Regions from separate parts of the Homo sapiens genome. Here region 1 is linked to region 2. Evidence: promoter capture Hi-C in 16 types of primary human blood cells and fetal thymus (Javierre and others, 2016). All regions are on one chromosome and are shown on one strand. Each heading gives the region's core, a stretch centred on a gene start or on the middle of the fragment in contact. The rest is flanking DNA. Distances are from core to core; before and after follow the strand shown.

Region 1 (5,267 bases), core at 793-3,292, 290 kb after region 2:
TCTCAAGTTGTGCCATTGATTTCATTTTTAGAGCCCAAAGGTAAGACTTTGAGTATCCCTTTGGTGGTGCTGGCTCAGCATCACTTTCATTTTCCTTCACTCTCTGCACCCCACCCACCTACCCACCCACCCATTTCCTGGTGCAGGTGCTAACAAGAGAGTTGGAAACAGAAGGGAAAGAAGTCTGCTGCAAACTAAGCGTGCAGTGTGCAGTCATTGAGATTTGACTGCATCTTAACATTGGCACTCAACCAAATTTAAGTGGCTCTAAGTACTTTTAAATTAGGCATATAGTTAAAATTTGACAAGCACATAAACTTAATAGCTGATTTCCAGGCAAAATTACTACCAAAACTGATTTTAACTGCCAGTAAAATAAGCCCAGGGGGTTGTTATTCAAGGTAGCCCAGTAAAATGAAATAAGGATCAGGACAATGGGAACAGTTGTGAAGATGACAAAACTGTCATGTCTACAGGTGGAACTAAGTGTCTGCCCTGTTAATGGATATAGACACAATTCAGGGAAGCAAGCCATCCAAATGCATCACTTGAATCCTGTTTGGTTGTTCTGACGTAGAAGAAGAAAAGAAAGAGAATCAATTGAGGAAATGTAAGATGCAGAACTACAAAAATAAACTTGCCGTCCCTGACATCTGTGTTTATAAATGCACTATATTAAACAGCAGAGATTTTCCCCATCGTTAGCCAACACCAAGATGGCGTCTTGCAGGCTTTGTTTTTTCTTCACCCCTAATCGTAAGGGCTTTCTTTACTCTCTCTTTGCTTCCAGCTTTTGTCTTATTCTCCCCATAAAGAGTTGGCAGAGCATGGCTGGGCAATTTCAGAAACATGGTTTATAAGTGACTTGCTCTATTATTTTGCTATTAAAAGTGAGTCTGTGCTAACTATTCTTTGATGAAGAAGCAGTCCCTTCCAGCCCCCAGGTGGAGATTTTCCCTATCAATAACGCCAGAACAAGTTTGAATCAAAGAAATGACACATACAGTGGCCAGATGTTTGGAGAATAAGAAAGGGAGCTAAGTTCACACAATTGTTCTGCCTTCTTGCTTTCCGCTGAGGTTCTTTCCTGTGAGCTGTAGGACTCATTAACAGACAGCTCTGCTCTGGGCATGCACACCGACAGCCTCAGCCTAGCCCTTCAGCGAGAGGCTGCTAACAGGCGGCCTTCCTTTTCCTGTGCAGCTGGTGTTTGCAGAAGGACATGATTTGAAAGTTGATTTATTTACCCTGTCTTTGAAAAAAAATGAATGGACATAGATGTCTGTTTGTTAAAACAATTAATAAACTCTAATAATATGATTAGAATTTAACAGAAAAACATCGTTGGCTTGCAGGTGGAAATCCAAGGTCTTCAACTTTTAGGATGTTCATCATGTAGCTGTCTCACTCAGAACAAGATAAGATGACGTGTTTGGTCTTTAAAAACAAAACAGTCAGGAGATCGAGACCATCCCGGCTAAAACGGTGAAACCCCGTCTCTACTAAAAATACAAAAAATTAGCCGGGCGTAGTGGCGGGCGCCTGTAGTCCCAGCTACTTGGGAGGCTGAGGCAGGAGAATGGCGTGAACCCGGGAGGCGGAGCTTGCAGTGAGCCGAGATCCCGCCACTGCACTCCAGCCTGGGCGACAGAGCGAGACTCCGTCTCAAAAAAAAAAAAAAAAAACAAAACAAAACAAAAAAACAGCTGATCAGTTCTTGTTTTTTACTCTACAGCCTTTGAGTCATGAATGAAGAAAATCACTTTCACTTGTGGGAGCCAGTGGGCTCCAGTTCGTGTTGTCTCTGTTGTCCGTGGAGACTTTGAAGATGTTTATATGCACCTCAACTATCAAGAGGAAGAGAACATGCCAGAAAGGGCCTCTTCCTCTTGGGCTAGCTCCTCCTCTCAAGTCCCTTCAAAAAGTCAGTGTGTCTGAGACACAATAGACACAGCTTAAATAAAGTGAAGAGGGATAGGCCGTAGAAGAAGTAGTTTCTGTCTTTAAAAAATGTATTCATTATTTTGGGGAATAATATAAACCTGAACACCAATTTAAAAAACTTTAAAGGACTATTCAGTGAAAAATCATTCTCTCTCCCACCCTCACTCCCCATCAGCCACCATGTTCCCAAACCAGAGGCAACTGCCATTATATTTCTAGAGTATTCTTCCAGAGACATCCTATGTAGATATAAACATTCATACATACACATATATATGCTTTTAAAATATGCAAATGATGTACAATACACATTGTTCTGCACTTTGCTTTTTTTTTTTCATTTAACAATACATCAGACAAAGATGTTTTTTCTGCTCAAAGTGCCATCAAGAGAGAAAAGTCATTCTTCAGTTCAATGATCTGCATCTGTTTCTGGCTTATTGTATTGACAACAAACAAAATGCAAGTCAAATTCTATTGCAGCCATAGGTAATCTCGGCCTGGAGAAATGTGAATCCTCTTTAAAACCTTACAACTCTGAATAACAGGAAGTGTGGAGTGCATAGAGGAGAAAGGGAAGGATGAATTATGCTTAATAGAACGTTTTATGGAACTGACAGTTGAGCCGAGAGACATTTTGGATGCCATCTTGCAAAATGATTCCTTGCCTAGCTCTAGTAAGTAGAATGCAAAGTTATTGGCTATAATAGCATAATTTTTGCTAGTTAAGGATCTCTATAGGTGGCATAGTGTCAATATTCTGGATATGACATGAGGGAGGTAGAAAGAGAACAGGCTTTGGAATCAGGCAGACCTAGATGTTAATACTGGATATACCAGTTATTAATTTAAACTAGTTTTCTAACCTCTCAGACCCTTGGTTTTCCTTTATGTAAAATGGAAATACTGTACATAAAGAGTGGTTGTGACAATTTGTCTTTTTTTAAAAAAAAAACACATCATAGGTGTCCACTATTACTGTGATGCTGCATAACAAATAATTCCCCCATTCTCCATGACTTGAAATAATGAATATTCATGTTGTATTCATGTTTCCATTCACTGTAGTTTAGATGTACCCAGCTGCTCTTGCCTGAGCTTTTCTGGCCTCTAGGCTTGGGTCTGTTTCAGGTCTGCTTTACACGTCTCGATTTCAGGTCAAAGGGTGACAATTGCCTGGTGGCATGCTTTTCTCTCATGGCAGAAGATAGAACCTCAAGAGGACTGGCAGCAACTCACCATGCCTCTTATAGACTCAGCTGGTCTATAAGACCAGAACATTGTTACTTCTGCCCACATTCCATGGGCCAAAACATCACAGGGCCAGGGCCAAGGCCAAATTCAATGAAGTAGGAGGAATATTCTCCCTGTAGTGAACCACAGCAAAAGCAGGCAGGGGAGGAAGAATCATAAATAATAGATTCAGGCCCCCAGTGCAACACCAGGCATCTACAGTGTTCACATAAATGGGAGCTATTATCACTATAGTATCAAATAGGAAAGGTATTAGAGATAGCACTGAATGTATAATAATTCTAAAACACACCTTAAAAGCAATTTAATTTTTTAAAAAACCACTTTAAAAAGTCAATCGGTTTGTAATTTTGTTCTTCTCGTAATCAGAGTAGGCATATATGGTCCCTCTGTGTGAATCTGAAAAAAAGGTGCCTCTCTAAGCAGATGAACCCTAGGGCCAACAGCTAGGCAAGTGCATAACAAGATCCCCCTTCCATGTGGTAAATGCAGCTCTGCAAAGAGCCCCTGGCTGGGCTGGGAGAGCTGAAAGGGAGCTGCCCTCTCCACTGAGCCTATTGTGCAGTGCACGACCTACACACCGTATGTTGCAGCACAGCTCCTAAGAGTAGAAGGTGGCCTGGGAGCCTCATCCTGCTTTCGGTTCTGGTTCATTGACACCATTGCTATAAACAATTTCCTTGGAGCTTTGATTCACAGCTTTCTTTCTGCTTTCCAAGTTATGGACTAGAAAATTGGAGCTTTGGGGACACACTGGCACCTATTTCGCAGAGCTCCTGCGGCTTTTTACGTCTCCCATCTGAATCCAGACCCAGGTGACCTAGCAGCTCCCAGACAGCTCTAGGGCCTGGAAACTGGGATCACAGAGAAATGTACAGACTTACACAACTTAATTTTCTTCATCCTGACTGACAGGATGAGGACAGAAGGGAAGAGGAGGGAACTCTAAAGAAGCTTTAGAAGGCACTGACATTATAAGCTTGTGGATAGATAAGCAGCTCATGGGGAGTGGAGTGCGAAGCAGCAAACATGGGGGGAGAGATTGATGGAGGCACCCCAGGGTGGGGAGCGGGGAGATCCTTATGTCTACACATAACAACTGCTGTGAGAAAAGATGTGCAATTCAGTCCTGCATTGCTTATTTGGAAAATTAATTAGTAAGTGGTTAGCAAACAATGGTTCCACTGAACAGAATATTAATCTTCCCCCAAATTTATTTAGACCCTAGGCATAGAGGGGAGAGGAAGAAGGAAGGATCTGGCAGAGGAGGAGGGAGGGAGGGAGAGAAAGAGAAGGGTACAGGATGGGAAAGGATAGGAGAGGAGGGGAGGGAAGGCAGGACCTGTATCTGCTTTGTTCCCCAGGATCAAGCACAGGACCCGGCCTGGAGAAGGTGCTCATTAACATGAGAGTGTATGAGTGAAAGAGAAGGGAGATTGCAATATTGACATCCGTGATTCTACTAAAAGCATCGCCAGTTGACTACAGTGAGACATCTTACATTCCCACTGATCTGCTAAATATGTTATTTGGAGAGTCACCCCACACTCTTTGTAGCATAACTCATCAGTCTTGTCTACCGCCTATCTCATCATCCTAGATTTAGTTCTTTTCCCCCTCCTGCAGGCAGTGTAAAGGCCAGCATCCCGCGCTCCTTGCCCTCTCGCCCTCTCCTGCTTCAGTTTTCCTGTTTTCTTGCCTGTAAGTGTCTGTTAGACACTTCCTCTGAGGTTTATTTGCAGTCTGACCTGTGAATCTTTGAAATATTCTCTCTCATGGTCTCACTCCAGTGACACCATGAGCAAGGCATTGGTAATGACAGCTCATTTGGAGATATTAGCGGCTAGGCTGTTTTCTTTTATGCTGTCTAGGTGTAGGCTCTGGAAGAAGACGGAAGCACTGAAGGATGTTTCCTGAGTGAATTTGAACACTGTGCAGAAAAAAAACCTGGCTTCCTTTCATCTTTAAAATGTAATTGGGTCCAATCAGGTCTAAAATGATAGTGTCTGGAAGTCCACTCTCAGGAATGAGTCCTACCATTGGTCAACCCAGCCTCCTTGCCAGACCTT
Region 2 (4,734 bases), core at 1,890-4,389:
TTATTACTCTTTCTTCTGTTGATGGTGCATCAGTTTTTCTTTGGGGATGCACCCTTCCCCATCTCAGGCCTCTGGTGTGAAGTGGATCCCTGACCCCGGCTTCAGGGGTGGGCACATGACTCAGACATGGCCAATCAGCATACTCCATCCCTCTGGCTCCTTCCCAATGGGCACATGACTTAAGCCAGGTCAGTGAGACTCGGTTTCTCCCATAAACTTTTACAGGAGATGTTTATGGGGGCAGGAAAACTCTACTTCCGTTGGTACTAGTGAGCTGTAAGCCTAGAGCTGCCCTGAGTGTATACAAGGTTGGCAAAACAACACAGGAAAGTATTGAGGATAAAGGTGGAGGAAAGTGTACGTGCACTTGTGCACACATGCATCCACACACACTCGCCCTTCAAGTCCTGATAACTTTGAGTCCTTGGATCTAGGAAAGTCTGAAACACTATTGTCCCTGGACTTTCTGGTTATAAGAGCCAATACATTTAGGCTTCTTTGTTTGCTTGCTTAATTTAAGCTGCTTCTATAAGTTGCAATCGAGAGTCCTTGCTAAAAGAATTATGAAAACAATGAAATACATAAAGCACAATCCCTGAACATGCCCAGGACTATCACAAAATACAGTATAGAATTAATCCATACATCCTACCTGAGATATAAAACATTTCCATCATTGCCAATGTTCCATTGGACACTGCTGATCTATAATATAGTTCCTTATATATTACAGCATATATGTCCACTCATAGTGCCTTATATATATGCTTCCTTTCTTTATGTAACAGGCAGTGGGTATTATTAAAAACAGCTAACAACCCTAAAGGTACAAGTACTGGAGGCTCTCTGTTGTGGCCAGCATTAAAATTTTAATTCCTGGATCTAAGGAGATTTAGCGTGTCTCAAGGTTGGGCTGGGAGATATTTTAGGGTATGGTTTTTTTTGTAATCAGTACAGAAGGATTTCAATATTGTGTCAACCAATAAGGCCAAATTGGTGTGTACTGGCTGAACATAAGCTCTGTTAGCAGATATTATAGTTTCTTACTTGAGTACCTATTTTCCCTGCTGGACTGTGAATTCCCCTAGACAGAGACTTTGTCTTACTCATTTATGTGGGTCTTATGCCTACCTAGGTGCTCAAAAGATATTTGCTGAATGAAAAACAGGAATGACGGTCCAACATGGTATAACTCCCTATTCAGTTTTTTTTTTTCCTGATAGAAGTTCCGTGCCTAGAATTAAATTGCAATATGGTCTCTTTTCACCCACTCTTTTGAAGATGTTATCCTCTCCAATATCAGCTGATTGAAGAAGAAAATTGTAAATTTTCTCTCTCAGGCATAATGTTGATATTTTAACTCATAGTGATTTTTTCTCAATACAAAATGAATTTTAGAAATAAATCAAGATCCCAGAAACTTATGATTGCTTTGAGTGGTATCTTTTATCTGTCATCCTAAGAAAAACATGAGATCTGATGGCCCAGAGCACAGAGACCTTTGGTATTTCAGTTCTCCTACAGCCGCATGACTCGAACCTTTTGCTGGGAGATTGGGATGTAGGTCCCCATACTTGATTATAAGGACTGTGAGGGCAGGGGCCACATCTGCATATCTGTCTATTAATAATAGTACTCCTGGTACCTAGCTCCTCCTTGCTTCACAGCAGACACTAAACAAATGCTTGCTGAGTGAGTAAATACTTACATTTAAAGAGAGGCAATTATACACATTGATCATTTGATCACCCTCTAGCACTGATAATTTTTAAGTGATTAGCTTTAAAAATCATTTTTCTTACATCAACCTGGGTCCTCACACTATTAAACAACAGGAGAGCTTTCAATATTAAATGAAGTGGGGCAGCTGGGCAACTGTAAATTTTGGATGATACTTCAGAGAAGAGTCTAGGTGTATCTGTTCTATCCCTTTTTCTGATGGGCATCTGCCATTTATTTTTCCATTCTTAAGCTCTCAGGAGGGATGTCTTATTAGTTTATCAGAATGCATAGGGAAAGCTCATCTTTCTTGGAGTAGGTCTTCCAATAAGTGTTCAAGCCCTGGGTCTTCCCTCACTACAATAATAAACATACCTGCTCTACCCTCCTCACAAAGCTGTTATCGTGAGCATGAAAAGACGAGTCGCTGTGGGGAAGAACTATTAACCCCTATACAGATACTGTTGTTGCTTTCCGTTCAAGGATCCACCATGAGACTGTGGGTAAGGCACTTTCTGGGCAGTGAAATCGGGCTTAAGAGAATCATTGTACTTTTATTTTGCTCCTGGGACCGGCAAGGGCAGTTAAGAGCCCTAGCCCTAAAACTGTCGTCTGTTACAGAGGCAGAGAAATCATTACTGGGGTTGGCAGCGTTGGGGGGAGGGGGGAAAACGTGTATGAAAACCTGGGCTCCCAGAGCAAACTTCGCCACGCGCCCTCCATCGCCCCTGTCTCCACACAAGTCCCGGCAGGGGCTTCTTGGGCGGAGGCCACGCCGACCAATAGGAACCCACTGTGTTCCTACAGGTTACGAAGCAGGTGGAGAAATTGAGCAGAAACAATTAGCGAAACCGGGCTCAGCCTTTACCGCGGTGCCAGGAGCTCCTAACAGGCCTGGAGGGGAATGTCGGGGCTCAATTTCCTAACGCTCCCCTCCCCATCCCCATGCCACCTCCACGAGCAGCGGCGTCCAGCCTCCTCCCGCCCGAACGTGCTCGAGGGGCGGGCAGTCGACCTTTATTGTCTGGGGAGCACCTGGCAGGTGGCGGGCCCGTGCCCTAACGTGTGCGTGGTGCCCAGCTTCACAAAGCGAGCGGGCAGCACCTCCTTGGTCCGGGAACGGCCTCAGCCTGGCCGTCCACATCCCAGGGGTGGAAAGGTGGAGAGAGAAAGGGGCTCCGGAGTCAAGAGCGGGGAGAGAGGGCGCGCGCGCCCTCCTCCTCCCGGCGGGCACGGCCCCCCGGCATTAACACGTCGAAAGAGCAGGGGCCAGACGCCGCCGGGAAGAAGCGAGACCCGGGCGGGCGCGAGGGAGGGGAGGCGAGGAGGGGCGTGGCCGGCGCGCAGAGGGAGGGCGCTGGGAGGAGGGGCTGCTGCTCGCCGCTCGCGGCTCTGGGGGCTCGGCTTTGCCGCGCTCGCTGCACTTGGGCGAGAGCTGGAACGTGGACCAGAGCTCGGATCCCATCGCAGCTACCGCGATGAGAGGCGCTCGCGGCGCCTGGGATTTTCTCTGCGTTCTGCTCCTACTGCTTCGCGTCCAGACAGGTGGGACACCGCGGCTGGCACCCCGACCGTGCGACTACTCGGCGAAGCCTGTGCCTGGGAGGGTGGTACCCGCCAGGGTGCATCCGGAGAGAGGACTGCGGGCCCTCAGTGCCCGTGCGTTCCAGCCTCCGGGGAGACTCCAGGTGGCCCTCGGACTCTCCGGCGCCCTGCCTCGCTCACCTGCGCGAGGAGACCCCAGCTGCTGGTGGTGGGGGACGCGAATCCGGGGTTCTTCGGGAATGGGGACAGCAAGAGGGGGTTAGGCGTGAGCGAGGCTGCAGGCTCCGTGCGAGTTTGGGGTGGCTTTTGTGCCGACGTTGCGCGGGGGGCGGAGGCGGGGGGCTCAGGGGTTTGCACCGAGCGCCTTCTCTTGCCGTGCGAGGCGCGGCCGCAGCTTCCTTTTGTTAAAAGTTGCGTGTGTGTGACCGGCGCCCGGGAGGACCTGCCTGCAGGTTCTCCGCCGCGCTGAGGGCAAAGTTAGAGAGCCCTTTCTCTGCTCTGCGGCTACTGCCTTCCAACCGCAGGCGCTCTTTGTGCCCAGAGCTGGGGACCGACCCGCTGCCGCCTCTGCTCGCGGCGCCACCCGTGGAGACCAATCGAAGGCTGCGGCGTTTCCCCGCCTCCGGGTTAGGCTTTTGCGCTGGGAGTGCGCGGCGTGGGGCTGTTGTGGGGCCGGACTCCCGCGAGCCTGGAGGTGGTGGCGACAGGGACAACTTGGGCAGGGCGTGTGGAAAGCAGCCGCTAGGTTGCAGACTTTTTGCTTTCGTACATCCCGTGCTCGCCCCTTTCTGCCGCGGCGCCGTTTCATTCCTGCCGCGCGCCCCGGGGCGGCTGGAGGCTGTGTTTGCCGCCTGCTCCGGGAAGGCAAGGGACAGCGTGCTGGGACTCTGCGTTCCCTGACTCCAACCGCCTAGCACGCCGGCCAGAGTGCCCGGCCTGCCTGGCGGGTTCTGAAAGCCCCTAGTTCCCGGTGTCTGCGACCTGTATTCGCAGGTCCTGTTTTCTTCGGAAATTTTTGAGATTCGTGACCGCCCGCCTCCCCGCCCCCGGGACTTCTATACTTCAGGGCTGCCTGGGGGTGGGGTGGGAGATGGCGTGGAACTTTCTGCAAATCCTACTCAGTTCTTAAAGCTATAACAGAAATCCAGGTATATCCGCGCGGGAACTGGGTCTTAGGTGAAGGATTTGCAGGTTGCTGGAGCCCCTTGGTCAGATTCCTGCCTCCCGTTCCCTTTTTTCCAGGTGTCGCTGGTGCGGGCGAGTGCAGGTCGCCCAGCTCACCCCTGAAGCCCTGCTATCTCCCAGGTCATTTTTTAAAACAAACCTTTAAGGTTACCCTGATGATGTAAGGATAGAAAGTGAGTCTTAGCTGGAATCAAGCGCTTGAAAGGAAGCGGCGCAATGAACGGTTTTGAGACTGTCGACTACCGGTCAGTTTCTCTATAAAGTCTCCAGGCGCAGTCTGCAGCG

What was found. The method cuts DNA at HindIII sites, captures the fragments that hold promoters and counts their contacts. A CHiCAGO score of 5 or more calls a contact.
Region 1: a contact is called between a fragment that was not itself captured here and the fragment with the promoter of KIT in region 2, in 1 of 17 cell types (neutrophils). The highest score is 5.4, in neutrophils.

The regions. Positions count from the first base shown.
Region 1 is chr4:54,941,067-54,946,333 of GRCh38, forward strand. No RefSeq gene overlaps it. Among named protein-coding and RNA genes, the nearest start is that of LINC02358, 98 kb to the left of the region's middle. The HindIII fragment of the contact is 4,216 bases long and covers 1-4,150 here.
Region 2 is chr4:54,654,818-54,659,551 of GRCh38, forward strand. It overlaps KIT (KIT proto-oncogene, receptor tyrosine kinase), which reads left to right and starts at 3,140. Exons shown (of 21, transcript NM_000222.3): 1 at 3,140-3,264. The coding sequence starts at 3,198. RefSeq lists a silencer at 2,425-2,719. The HindIII fragment of the contact is 16,971 bases long and covers 1-4,734 here.